5 separate regions of the Homo sapiens genome follow, and all the other regions are linked to region 1. Evidence: promoter capture Hi-C in 16 types of primary human blood cells and fetal thymus (Javierre and others, 2016). All regions are on one chromosome and are shown on one strand. Each heading gives the region's core, a stretch centred on a gene start or on the middle of the fragment in contact. The rest is flanking DNA. Distances are from core to core; before and after follow the strand shown. Region 1 holds the start of ZNF622 (zinc finger protein 622). Region 2 overlaps MYO10 (myosin X). Region 3 overlaps RETREG1 (reticulophagy regulator 1). Region 4 overlaps MYO10 (myosin X). Region 5 has its middle 21 kb from the start of RETREG1.

Evidence for each region. The method cuts DNA at HindIII sites, captures the fragments that hold promoters and counts their contacts. A CHiCAGO score of 5 or more calls a contact.
Region 2: a fragment that was not itself captured here is called in contact with the fragment with the promoter of ZNF622 in region 1 in 7 of 17 cell types (non-activated CD4 T cells, naive CD4 T cells, naive CD8 T cells and 4 more); the score reaches 11.6 in non-activated CD4 T cells.
Region 3: a contact is called between a fragment that was not itself captured here and the fragment with the promoter of ZNF622 in region 1, in 5 of 17 cell types (non-activated CD4 T cells, activated CD4 T cells, naive CD4 T cells and 2 more). The highest score is 6.4, in non-activated CD4 T cells.
Region 4: a contact is called between a fragment that was not itself captured here and the fragment with the promoter of ZNF622 in region 1, in 2 of 17 cell types (non-activated CD4 T cells and naive CD4 T cells). The highest score is 8.1, in non-activated CD4 T cells.
Region 5: a fragment that was not itself captured here is called in contact with the fragment with the promoter of ZNF622 in region 1 in 2 of 17 cell types (non-activated CD4 T cells and naive CD4 T cells); the score reaches 6.3 in non-activated CD4 T cells.

Annotation. Positions count from the first base shown.
Region 1 is chr5:16,464,487-16,467,186 of GRCh38, reverse strand. It overlaps ZNF622 (zinc finger protein 622), which reads left to right and starts at 1,387. Exons shown (of 6, transcript NM_033414.3): 1 at 1,387-2,146. The coding sequence starts at 1,522. RefSeq lists a silencer at 1-202 and an enhancer at 2,010-2,079. The HindIII fragment of the contact is 4,211 bases long and covers 1-2,700 here.
Region 2 is chr5:16,687,309-16,690,088 of GRCh38, reverse strand. It overlaps MYO10 (myosin X), which reads left to right. Exons shown (of 41, transcript NM_012334.3): 28 at 170-265. Among named protein-coding and RNA genes, the nearest start is that of RETREG1, 72 kb to the right of the region's middle. The HindIII fragment of the contact is 1,804 bases long and covers 599-2,402 here.
Region 3 is chr5:16,607,287-16,609,986 of GRCh38, reverse strand. The region is part of intron 1 of RETREG1 (reticulophagy regulator 1); the gene reads left to right. Among named protein-coding and RNA genes, the nearest start is that of RETREG1-AS1, 7.3 kb to the left of the region's middle. The HindIII fragment of the contact is 6,956 bases long and covers 1-2,700 here.
Region 4 is chr5:16,706,144-16,708,873 of GRCh38, reverse strand. The region is part of intron 21 of MYO10 (myosin X); the gene reads left to right. Among named protein-coding and RNA genes, the nearest start is that of RETREG1, 91 kb to the right of the region's middle. The HindIII fragment of the contact is 5,096 bases long and covers 1-2,730 here.
Region 5 is chr5:16,636,180-16,638,970 of GRCh38, reverse strand. No RefSeq gene overlaps it. Among named protein-coding and RNA genes, the nearest start is that of RETREG1, 21 kb to the right of the region's middle. The HindIII fragment of the contact is 5,203 bases long and covers 1-2,791 here.

The sequences.
Region 1 (2,700 bases), core at 138-2,637:
GAGGGGTAGAGCCTCGGAGAATAGAAAGTAAGGTGTTTGAATTTGATTGAGTCAAGGGAAGGCACTGGAAGGTTTTTTAAAGCGCCATCTTCTTTTGGTTTTCTCTTGGCAGCCTGGATTCTGAGCATGCAACATTCGACTCTAACAAGGCTGACTCTGGTTCAACCAGGCTGTGTGGATGAAATCTACGACCTCCCCAAGCATTTGAAGTTCATGTTTTCTTTTTCTTTTGAGATGGAATCTTGCTCTGTTGCCCAGGCTGGAGTGCAGTGGCGCGATCTCGGCTCACCACAACCTCCGCCTCCCGGGTTCAAGCGATTCTCCTGCCTCAACCTCCCAAGTAGCTGGGATTACAGGTCTGCGCCACTGCGCCGGGACTAATTTTTGTATTTTTTAGCAGAGACTGGGTTTCGCCATGTTGGCCAGGCTGGTCTTGAACCCCTGACCTCAGATGATCCGCCCGCCTCGGCCTCGCAAAGTGCTGGGATTACGGGCGTGAGCCACCGCGCCTGGCCTGAAGTTCTTTTCTACAGAACTTTGCTGTCCTATATACATGAGGGTACACAGCCAACTGGGCACCTGGCACGGGTCTAGTCCAAATTGAGATGGGCTGTTAACTCTAAAACACACACTGGATTTCCAAGACTTAGAACCAACGACAGAGCGTAAAAGATCTAATTAATTCTTTTAGACTGATTACATGCTGAAATGACAGGATGGGCTAAATTAAACACATTAAAAGCAGTTTCACCGATTTCTCTTTACTCTTTAAAAATGTGGCTGCTATTAGAATTACCTACGTGGCTTGGACTGTGTGTCTACAGGGAGCTCCTCTCGCGCACTCTGTGCACTCAAATTCCGCCGGTGTCCTCCGCCGGAAGGGCCGCCTCAGAAAGGCCGAGCCCCCGGCCTGGCTTCTCCGGTTTCCCGGGAAAGCGTTGCAACCACGGGCGAGGGCTCCGAGGTCGGCCCCGAGGGGTAAGGGCAGCCCTTGCCTTCGCGACATCCATTCACCCGGCTCCGCAGGTGCAGCGCGCGGTCCTCAGAGAAACCCCGACCCTCGCGTCGCTGACCCGACCATTCATTAATCGGGGGCTTCCCAGGGCCCAGGAGCAGCCTCGGGCGCCCCACTCCCCCATTCTCGCGTAGCCGTCCCCTTGACCGCGTCACACCGAGCGGCACAACCACCAGGGAAGGTAACTGGGAGGGCGCGACCTCCCTCAATCAACAGCCACCTCGGGCTGACTGAGCGGACCCAGGTCCCTTTCAGCCACAGCGTTCCCTCGGCTTCCTGGGCCTCACGGCGGCGGAGGCGTGGCCACAGCCTGAGAGGCGGGTTTCCTGTCCAGTTGTGAATAACTTCCGACGTGTGCCGGAAGTTTCCTCAGTGACAATCAGGAAGTCGGCGTGTCGAGTGGCTCTTCCTGGCTGCTGAGGCGGGTTAAGGTCTGAGGGTCTTGTGGGGCCACGGCGCTGATCACCAGGTGTTTGGCTTGGTCGGTTCTTATTTCTCGCCTGGCAATGGCGACGTACACCTGCATAACTTGCCGGGTGGCGTTCCGCGACGCGGACATGCAGCGGGCCCACTATAAGACGGACTGGCACCGCTACAACCTGCGGCGGAAGGTGGCCAGCATGGCCCCAGTGACCGCCGAGGGCTTCCAGGAGCGAGTGCGGGCGCAGCGGGCCGTCGCGGAGGAGGAGAGCAAGGGCTCGGCCACCTACTGCACCGTTTGCAGTAAGAAGTTTGCCTCTTTCAACGCCTACGAGAACCACCTCAAGTCCCGGCGTCACGTTGAGCTGGAGAAGAAGGCCGTGCAGGCAGTGAATCGGAAAGTGGAGATGATGAATGAAAAGAACTTGGAGAAAGGACTGGGCGTGGACAGTGTGGACAAGGATGCCATGAACGCGGCCATCCAGCAGGCCATCAAGGCCCAGCCGTCCATGTCTCCCAAGAAGGCGCCCCCAGCGCCTGCAAAGGAGGCCAGGAATGTCGTGGCCGTGGGTACTGGTGGCCGTGGGACCCACGACCGAGACCCGAGTGAGAAACCACCCCGGCTCCAGTGGTTTGAACAGCAGGCGAAGAAGTTGGCAAAGCAGCAGGAGGAGGACAGCGAGGAGGAGGAAGAGGACCTGGATGGAGACGGTGATGGCCCTGTCTGGGCGGGGAGGGTAAAGAGGAACTTGGCCCACCCTTAAGTTTCCAGATTTATACTCGAGATGGGTGTGTGTGTGTGTTTGAGAGCTTTTAAGTAAAAATGATGAGGGAAGGTGGTTTAGACGCTTTCTGAAGTGCCTTATCTGGCCAGCAGGTTTGGCTGTTTAGTTCACTCAATTCATTCTCCAAGGCCTAAAACCTTGTCTGGAAAAAGAAGTGCTTAATGCATATTTGGAGAATGAATTGATGCCTTCTGTGTTTTGGATGAAGAGGCTTTTAACATATGCACAGGAGGACATGCTATCGTCATACCAGCTGCCGTGTAATTTGCGATTCTAGTGGGTTTCCAGTTATGATGGTTTTGCACTTAATTTAGTTGAGTAAAACAGAATGAGGGGATCAAAACCAACTCAGCCAGAAATTTGGAGCTGGAGCCAGCACCCTCACCTCTTTGCCTTTATGAGCTATTTATTCCTTACTTCCCTCATCCCACATCCTATTAACAGTGCTGGTGTAGGTGTTCATGTCTTAGTCTGTCCACT
Region 2 (2,780 bases), core at 251-2,750, 220 kb before region 1:
GTGCAGAACCCACAAATCCTGAACTCGCAGATATGGAGAGCCAACTGTGTACCGTTTCGTCAGTAACAGACAGTTCCCAACTCTAGTCATTGGCTTCATTAGTTGCTTTCCTCAGTTATTCAGAATTTGGTGTTCCTGATGTGCGTTTGTTGCTTTTGCTTCTTTGCAGAGAGATCATAGATAACACCACCAAGGAGAATGGGATCGACATCATTATGGCCGATAGGACTTTCCACCTGATTGCAGAGTCCCCAGAAGATGCCAGGTGAGTCTGCGCTGTTGACTTTGTGTTACCCACATCCTGCTCCCTCATGCACAGGTGTGAGCATCACACAGAGCACTGTTTACTGTACTGGCCTTGAAAAATTTTAATTGACTTTTTTTGAAGAACCAAGAGTCATACGAGATTGATGCACTTGTCCCTTGGGGAATCTTTCCCTGGGCAAATGTGTTCAAGTACAGCACAGAGTTCAGGATTTCCAGCCTCCAGTGCCACTAGACAGATCCATTGTCACCTGTCTCTCAGGCTGTTACTGTCACCGGTAGCGTGTGTAAATTATACAGCTGCATGAAGCTGAAAATCTACCCTCTGGAAGCTTCTGAGCTTTGAAAGTGAATCATTTGTGTTTGCATAAGGACGAAAAAGGGCAGGGAGCAGTAACTAATGGCTGTTTAAGTAACTGATAGTGCTATGGCACTGGGGGGTTTTAAAGATCTTAATATTGAAGAATTCAACGGAAGAGGTACTAACTTACACAGAACTTACTATTAGCTTGGTGCAAAAGTAATCACAATTATATTTCAGGCTAATATTCTAAATGTTTCATACCTAAGTATTTCAGGAAGTATTCTAAATGCTTCATAAATATTAACTCTTTTGATTCTCTTGGATCCTGCAAGGTAGACATTAATTATTACCATCATCCATACTTTGCAGAATAAGAGACTAGGGTACAGAGAACGGTTAGTATCATTTGTAATGCAGTGCAACCTCAATTCTGTTGAATGGAGACATTGAACTTCTTAAAAACATTTGCTCCTAAGGAGCTTTAACTTTTGACTGAGATTAGAAGAGGGTGGAGGCCTTCATTGGCTGGGGCAAGTTGTCTGTAGCTTCCTGGACTTCAGGTTTCCATGCTGGAGTGCTGAGGAGACATAGCACAAAATTAAGGAGACTTAGCATTTGCTCTTCAGTGTGATGGATCACAGGGTCACCTTGTGGATCTGACACCGTGGAACGTCTGTCCTGTCTATTCCTGCAGCTTGTGAGTTTGTGAGTCTGCAGGGTTATGCTGGAGGTGTCTGAGCAATGCCAGAGAACATCTTTTTTTTTTTTTTCTTTTTTTTTGAGACAGAGTTTCTCTCTTGTTGCCCAGGCTGGAGTGCACTGGTGCAATCTTGGCTCACCGCAGCCTCCACCTTCCAGGTTCAAGCAATTCTCCTGCCTCAGCCTCCCAAGTGGCTGGGATTACAGGCATGCACCACCACGCCTGGCAAATGTTGTATTTTTTATAGAGATGGGGTTTCTCCATGTTGGTCAGGCTGGTCTCGAACTCCCGATCTCAGATGATCTGCCCATCTCAGCCTCCCAAAGTGCTGGGATTACAGGCGTGAGCCTCTTCCTGGCTGAGAACGTCTTTTAATTTACGAGGGTAACATCCAATAGCCGAATTCTTCAATTCTCAGCCCCAAGATCATTAGGACCTTCTAGTATGTTCTCAGGACCCCTCACTACCCCTTGCCCTTTGAATCTTTCTGAGTTGATACAGTACCATGATAGCAACATTAAGGGTAAAGACACCAGAAAATAATTCTTCCCATGGGAACAAACTAAAACACCTGCTTAGACCCATAAATTCTAACACAAACTGGAAAAACAAGCAAACCTGGAATTATAGCCCATCATTCTGTCTGGGACTCCTGGAGACCACATGTGGTTGTTTGTGGCCCAGGGAATGCCTGCAGCTTTTCAGCTGAATTATAGGCCCAGCGTTTGGCAGCTGCCCTGTCTGTTTTATGCCACGATGAACCTGCTAAATTTAACCTTTGGAATATTTTAGCCAAGGACTTTTTCTCCTGACCAGTGGAACACTATTTTAAAAAAATTCCTTTTCAGATTCCAAGTTATACTTGATTCAAGAGAAGAAATTTATAAATTTAAGAGTCTAATCTAGACAGAATTGAAAGTGCAACAAATTTGATGCCTTTGTGTATGTGATTCCTACAACTTGAATGTATGTCTTTTTCAATGTTTAATTTGGGATATTTTTGAGATGAGCAAAGCAATGAAGTCTTGCTGTTTGGTTAACCAGAATGGATAGTGCAAATTTATATTAAAGTGTTTTCCTTGTTGTATACAAGAGATATGCATATCTCTTGTATATGTTGAATATTTTCAAGCTTGTAGTCACATTTTTCTCCCTTAGGAAGCACGCGAGATAGATTTTAGTGCTTTGCTGTAAATCGTTTGCACAGCCTACCTTTACATATGGTGTCATTTTTTTAACTTAAACATGCCATTGGATACCAAGTACTTCCCCTCTGCCTTAAACAGTAGGAGTATATATATATTTTGTGTCTTATAAGCCCCCAGCAGGAGAAGGATACCCTAGCGTCTCTTTCATATTTGATAGCGCTCACATTTTGTAGTTGGTCAGTAAATGCTAGATGGATGCATGTCTGTTCATAGTCATTTTCCTGATGCTTTGTTCTGCTTGATTTTTCTTAAGTTGACATGTTTTGTTTCGTTTTGTATTTGTTTTTTTTGTGAGGCAGAGTTT
Region 3 (2,700 bases), core at 95-2,594, 140 kb before region 1:
CAGGTGGGCCCAAAGCATCTGGGTTTTCTCCAGCTCTCTAGGTGATTCAATACATGTTCCAGTTTGAGAACCATTATGTTTGAGCACTTTCTGGAATTGTGAGCTGTCTTCTCCATAAGGCAGCATTTCCATTGCTGGGCGGCACTCACTGGTCAGTGTTTTCCTTACATGAAGGCCATTGCTTGATTGTCTCCGCAGCTGCCCAGGATGTAGGCCCCTCCCCAGGATCGCCCTTTGTGTGTTTCAAAATCCATTCTCTTCTTGGTTCCCACTGAGTCTTCTCTTCCCCGGCTGAGAAATCCTGGGCCCTTCCACTCACCGCTGTCCTGTCTCGTTTGCAGATCCTTCTGGCCGGGCTTCAGTTCATCTGTATTCTGCCTGGAATGCAGCATTCCTTAGGTGGCCTGGCCGCTGCATACTCTCTCCCTTCCTCCTGGATGGCGTCCTTCTAGCCTCACAGCCTGAGATAGAATTTCTTTACTACAGTTGACAATAACTCCCTTTTACAGATGCTACTATCGCTGGTTGTTAGACTCTTAAAAATAAGTAAATATATATCATTTAGTGCTTTGTCAAAGTATGGCTATATGTATAGTTATATACAGTTACAGTTATATACAGTTACAGACTTCAGTAAAGTCAAACTTTACTAAAGTTATGATAAAGGGTGTTCACATGTAGCATCGTATTTAAACCTTGCAGGAACCCAGTGAGGCATGTGTTGTTCCCATTTTACACAGGAGGAAACAGGAGGCCCAGAAAAAAGTTAACTGAACACCAAAGATGACGTTGACCGGTACTGTTCAATAGAATGTTTGTAGTGATGGACATAGTCTGCCTTTGCACTGCCTGTTATGGTAGCTTCCTGTGGCTGTTGAGCATGTGAAGTGTGGCTAGTGGGACTCGGAATGCCATTTGACTTTTATTTAAGTGTAAGTTTAAATAGCCACACAAGGCTAGTAGCTGCTGTGTTAGCATAGTCTTAGATAAGTGCTGAAGCTGGGTAATGAAGCAGCGTCCATTTTCCCTAAATTCAATGATTTTTCTACCCCATCTCTCTAAAGAAAAATAGGAGACTATTAGGGCTTACTTTTTTCAATATTACAGAATCATACTTAATGATTTCAGCACAGAGTGAAAAAATTATATTGGGAGAGGGTTGCTTCTGCATGAATGGGAAGGATCTTTTTAGACTGTCAGCCAGCCTGGTCCAAGTTCCTCGCCTTATCTTTGTTCCGTCTGAGTAGTCGGTACCTGTGAATGAGTGTCTGCTCCCTACCCAGTGTGGTCAAGGGGGTATACCTGGGCCCAGGGGGTATACCAGAAGCCCAGTGCCTGAACTCAGAGAGCCTACCCACTGGTTTAGGAGACACAGCTGATTTGGTGAATCGATTGAGAGAGTATGTCACAGTTCCAAATTGCATGTCATGGTCTCCAGGGCTTTACAGTTGAGGACAAAGTGGGGATGAGGGAGGTTTGGAATAGCTGATGAAAGTCTTGTGAGATTTATTGTATAAGCCCAGAAGAAAAGGTATAGTTTTAAAAGTGAGGTTAATGGTGAGCGATTTCCATGTAGGACAAACTCAGGAAGAAATGGGAGATGAGCACTGGATGTTGTCAGGATGGAGAGACTCTCCTGACTCACACTGAGGGTCTGTTTTGGGGACAGATAATTAATCTTGGGTTGCCGGATCCACATGAGATCTGAAACACTGTAGATGTTAAAAAAGGTTTGGTGAAATGAGCTGGACTAGAGGATATTCCCCTATGGTGAATAAGGTGGGGCTATTTAAAGACAGTGAGAGTGGGCCGGGCACGGTGGCTCACAATTGTAATCTCAGCACTTTGAGAGGCTGAGGTGGGCATATCACCTGAGGTCAGGAGTTCAAGACCAGCCTGGCCAACATGGTGAAACTCCATCTCTATTAAAAATACAAAAATTAGCTGGGCATGGTGGCATGCGCCTGTAATCCCAGTTACTTGGGAGGCTGGGGCAGGAGATTCACTTGATTTCGGGAGGTAGAGGTTGCAGTGAGCTGAGATCACGCCACCCCACTCCAGCCTGGACGACAGAGTGAGACTCTGTCTCAAAAAAATAAATAAAAAATAAAAACAGTGAGAGTGGAGGGGAGGGGAGGGGAGGGGAGATTTATGTGCTTGCTAGGGGGAATACCCAGAGGTGAGGCTGCAAATTCAAAGGGTGGGGCCAGGTTTTGAAGAGGTTACTATTGGACCATGCTAAGGAATTTGGATGACATGAAATAAGCAATACCCATCTATTACCCTAATATTAATACCATAATATTCCTCCCTTTCTTTCAGGACCTCCATTAAAATATACAACAAGTATTTCTTTTTTTGTTTTTTTAAATTGAGACAGAGTGTTGCTCTGTCTTCCAGGCTGGAGTGCAGTGGTGTGATCTTGGCTCACTGCAGTCTCCGCCTCCTGGGTTCAAGCGATTCTCCTGCCTCAGCCTCCCAAGTAGCTGGGATTACAGGCACCTGCCACCACACCCAGCTAATTTTTGTATTTTTAGTAGAGACAGGGTTTTACCATGTTGGCCGGGATAATCTTGAACTCCTGGCCTCAGGTGATCTGCCCATCTTGGCCAGCCGAGCCACCACGCCTGGCCAAAATATGACAAATATTTCCTGAGTGTGTGCTATATGCTGACACTGTTCTTGGTGCGGGGGATATAA
Region 4 (2,730 bases), core at 89-2,588, 240 kb before region 1:
AAGAAATTGCAAGCCAGGCACAGTGGCTCACATTTGTAATTCCAGCACTTTGGGAGGCTGAGGCAGAAGGATCGCTTGAGCCCAGGAGTCTGAGACCAGCCTGGAAAACATAGTGAGACCTTTTCTCTACTGAAATTCAGAAAAATTAGCCAGGCGTGGTGGCATGTGCCTATAGTCCCAGCTACTCGCGTGGCTAGAGTGGGAGGATTGCTCGAACCCAGGAGGTCAAGACTGCAGTGAGCCCTGATCATGCCACTGCACTCCAACCTGGGCGACAGAGTGAAACCTTGTCTCAAAAACAAAAAGAAATTGCATTCTCTATAAACGAGTCACCTCACTGCCTTCTACAGTGGAGTAACATTAGAGATCATTAAAACTCAACCCAGCCATTAACAGTCTTTTCTGGGCTCCAAGTACTAATCCAGCTTCACTTAGAATTTACATTATGGAAATCAGGCCCAAGGCAGGCTTGGGACGTAGTGTAGCATAGGGGACACAGAGACATGGGCGTTGTCCTCAGTTTACTGTGTTGGAAGATAAGATATTCACACACAGTGGATGAATTAAATCATGCAGTACAATCTTTTTAAAGGAGTAAGGAAACAGCTTCTTCAGGAGAGAGATCCCTATGGATTGAAATGATCAAGGAAGTATTCAAGATGAAGAAGTTTTTAAAGAGGAGTTCAGTTTTAATTGGTGAAAAGTTGGGAGTAGAAGTTGGATGGAAGTTTATTTTTCCACAGACATGTTAGGAAGTAAATGCAAACATCAAAGCATTTGAATTGTGGCTTCTTGATAGCTTTGATCTTGACCAGTGTTTGAGTTACATGTTGGATAGCAGGTGTTTTGGTGTGTTGCCACCAGAAGGTCTTTCTGTTTAAAGCCTCAAACCTCTAATGAACTTCTGGTCTTCTGGTAAAGGAATGTCTGCCGTACACAACAGGCAAGTTTAGCCAGTGTCGAAGGCAGCGAATTAGACATGGCTCCAGGTCTGAACTGGCTGACTTATCCAAAACATATTTGTTCTTGTAAGGCAAGCATTCTTACCTAGAGGACTGGAGAAGCATTACTAGGAATTGAAGCGGCCTGTCGGATGCTTCACGGCACAGCCCGTGGGGAGGAGATTGCAATGTATTTCCCTGCTGAACAGCTGCGTTTACGGTGACTGAGGTGGGCAGCTGGTCCCTCTCCTTCCTGGTTTTGGCTTTTCCCACTGCCTCAAGGATTCCTGAAGACTCAAGACTTTTACTTTTCTGACCCTCTGGACTTCAGTGTCAGACTTTTCTTCCTCAGTTCTGTGGCAATGAAGCATGCAGGAGGTATTTTTATAAAGACAGTGTACTAGAATAACCCACAGGATCTTAAGCTACCTAAGAAGATAAAAGTGAAAAAGAACCACGTGAAATGGTTCCTGTTGGATATTGAGTCAAGTTCAGCCAAGCAGCGCCTGAGTGGGTACCACCCTTTGCTCAGCTGCTTTGGTGCCTGCTTTGATGCCACATTCCCAGTCACTAGGTTGTGCCAACTTGGTCTTGGCTGAGTCCTGGGAACATGGCAAAGTGACACAAGGGCTCACAGAAACACTTTCTGTATTAGTCTGTTCTCACACTGCTAATAAAGACATACCCGAGACTGGGTAATTTATAAAAGAAAGAGGTTTAATGGACTCACAGTTCCACATGGCTGGGGAGGCCTCATGATCATGGCAGAAGATGAAGGAAGAGTAAAGGCACATCCTACATGGCAACAGGCAAGAGAGCATGTGCAGGGCAACTCCCCTTTTTAAAACTATCAGATCCCATGAGACTTATTCACTGTCGTGAGAACAGCATGGGAAAGACCTGCGCCCATGATCCAATTACCTCCTACCAGGTCCCTCCCATGACACATAGGAATTATGGGAGCTACAATTCAAGATGAGATTTGAGTGGGGACACAGCCAAACCTATCACTTTCCTTCTGTCATTGTCTAATTCAGGGTTCGTGTTCTTAATGAAACTGACAGGTCCCTAAAAGCATTTTCTCTATTTGTTTGCCCTTTAGGTTGGTGAAGGAGAATGTAAATAAAGATGTGGAAGAATGCTTTTTAAAAACATATTTATTTATTTATTTTGAGAGCTGTCTTTTTAATGGACTGAAAACTAAAGCAAGTATTTGTCTGATTCTGATTCTAACCAAGACATTCTTTTGACTTCCAATGGTGGAGAAGACCTTTGTTCCTTCACAAAGGTTTCCACTTGTTCACGTCATCGCTGTGTCACTCATGAGAGTTGACACTTTTGTCTCTTTCGTCACCACCACCCCCTTCCCCAAGATTTGGCTGTTATTTTTCCTTTTAAGCACTCATAAGAGCAAAAGCATTAGAGTAAGATATGTAATACCAAACAAAAATCTCAGAGAAGTTGAAATGCTTCCTTAAAAGTCCAGTCTTGATGAAAACTGCTTTTGCTACGTGATTTTGATATGTACAGGGAATTCTGTATTTCTGAACATCTTTAATGATGATTACATCCAACAAACTTTACACTTGTAGCTTCTGCACCAACAGAGTGTGTGTGTGTGTATATATATATTCTCATGTATATGTATATGTGAATATATATGTGTATATATGAGTATATGTGTATATATATGAGTGTGTATATATATGAGTATGTACGTGTGTGTATATATATGTATATATGTTGCTTTGAGACAGAATCTCACTCTGTTGCCCAGGCTGGAGTGCAG
Region 5 (2,791 bases), core at 143-2,642, 170 kb before region 1:
GTGGTCCACTCTGCCACCTCTCCAACCTCATCCCCATCGCTTTTCCATCCCCAGCCCTGGTGTCCTCTGCTCTTCTTGTTTCTTGAGCATTTCAAGCTGGTTCTGGCTTCACAATCCTCACCCCTGCTGTTCACTGTCTAGCATTGGCTTGCCTGCAGAATTTCACATTACTGGCTGCCTTACTTCATTTAAGTGTCTGCTTAAAAGTCACTTCCCTGAGGGTGGAGCCAAGGTGGCCAAATAGGAACACCTCCAGTCTACAGCTCCCAGTGCGAGCAACGCAGAAGACGGGTGATTTCTGCATTTCCAACTGAGTTACTGGGTTCATCTCACTGGGGAGTGTCAGAAAGTGGGTGCAGGACAGTGGGTGCAGCACACCGCATGTGAGCCGAAGCAGGGCAAGACATCGCCTCACCCGGAAAGCTCAAGGGGTCAGGGAATTCCCTTTCCTAGTCAAAGAAAGGGGTGACAGCACCTGGAAAATCAGGTCACTCCCACCCTAATACAGCGCTTTTCCAACAGTCTTAGCAAACGGCACACCAGGAGATTATATCCTGCGCATGGCTCGGAGGGTCCTACGCCCACAGAGCCTTGCTCATTGCTAGCACAGCAGTCTGAGATCAAACTGCAAGGTGGCAGCGAGACTGGCGGAGGGGCGCCCGCCATTGCCCAGGCTTGAGTAGGTAAACAAAGTGGCCATGAAGCTCGAACTGGGTGGAGCCCACCATAGCTCAAGGAGGCCTGCCTGCCTCTGTAGGATCCACTTCTGGGGGCAGGGTATAGCCAAACAAAAGGCAGCAGAATCCTCTGCAGACTTAAATGTCCCTGTCTGACAGTTTTGAAGAGAACAGTGGTTCTCCCAGCACACAGCTGGAGATCTGAGAACGGGCAGACTGCCTCCTCAAGTGGGTCCCTGATCCCCGAGTAGCCTAACTGGGAGGCACACCCCAGTAGGGGCAGACTGACACCTCACACAGCCGGGTACTCCTCTGAGACAAAACTTCCAGAGGAACAATAAGGCAGCAACATTTGCTGTTCACCAATATCCGCTGTTCTGCAGCCTCTGCTGCCGATACCCAGGCAAACAGGGTCTGGAGTGGACCTCCAGCAAACTCCAACAGACCTGCAGCTGAGGGTCCTGACTGTTAGAAGGAAAACTAACAAACAGAAAGGACATCCACACCAAAACCCCATCTGTACATCACCATCATCAAAGACCAAAGGTAGATAAAACCACAAAGATGGGGGGAAAAAGCAGAGCAGAAAAACTGGAAACTCTAAAAATCAGAGCACCTCTCCTCCTCCAAAGGAACACAGCTCCTCACCAGCAATGGAACAAAGCTGGATGGCGAATGACTTTGACAAGTTGAGAGAAGAAGGCTTCAGACGATCAAACTACTCTGAGCTAAAGGAAGAAGTTCGAACCCACGGCAAATAATTGAAAAACCTGGAAAAAAATTAGACAAATGGCTAACTAGAATAACCAATGCAGGGAAGTCCTTAAAGGACCTGATGGAGCTGAAAACCAAGGCAAGAAAACTATGTGACAAACGCACAAGCCTCAGTAGCCGATGTGATCAACTGGAAGAAAGGGTATCAGTGATGGAAGATCAAATGAATGAAATGAAGCGAGAAGAGAAGTTTAAAGAATAAAAAGAAATGAACAAAGCCTCCAAGAAATATGGGACTATGTGAAAAGACTAAATCTACGTCTGATTGGTGTACCTGAAAGTGACTGGGAGAATGGAACCAAGTTGGAAAACACTCTGCAGGATATTATCTAGGAGAACTTCCCCAATCTAGCAAGGTAGGCCAACATTCAAATTCAGGAAATACAGAGAACACCACAAAGATACTCGTCGAGAAGAGCAACTCCAAGACACATAATTATCAGATTCACCAAAGTTGAAATGAAGGAAAAAATGTTAAGGGCAGCCAGAGAGAAAGGTCGGGTTACCCACAAAGGGAAGACCATCAGACTAACAGCTGATCTCTCTGCAGAAACTCTACAAGCCAGAAGAGAGTGGGGACCAATATTCAATATTCTTAAAGAATTTTCAACCCAGAATTTCATATCCAGCCAAACTGAGCTTCATAAGTGAAGGAGAAATAAAATACTTTACAGACAAGCAAATGCTGAGAGATTTTGTCACCACCAGGCCTGCCCTAAAAGAGCTCCTGAAGGAAGCACTAAACATGGAAAGGAACAACCAGTACCAGCCACAGCAAAAACATGCCAAATTGTAAAGACCATCAAGGCTGGGAAGAAACTGCATCAACTAATGAGCAAAATAACCAGCTAACATCATAATGACAGGAACAAATTCACACATAACAATATTAACCTTAAATGTAAATGGGCTAAATGCTCCAATTAAAAGACACAGACTGGCAAATTGGATAAAGAGTCAAGACCCATCAGTGTGCTGTATTCAGGAAACCCATCTCACGTGCAGAAACACACACAGGCTCAAAATAAAGGGATGGAGGAAGATCTACCAAGCAAATGGAAAACAAAAAAAAGGCAGGGGTTGCAATCCTAGTCTCTGATAAAACATACTTTAAACCAACAAAGATCAAAAGAGACAAAGAAGGCCATTATATAATGGTCAAGGGATCAATTCAACAAGAAGAGCTAACTATCCTAAATATATATGCACCCAATACGGGGGCACCCAGATTCATAAAGCAAGTCCTTAGAGACCTAGAAAGAGACTTAGACTCCCACACAATAATAATGGGAGACTTTAACACCCCACTGTCAACATTAGACAGATCAATGAGACAGAAA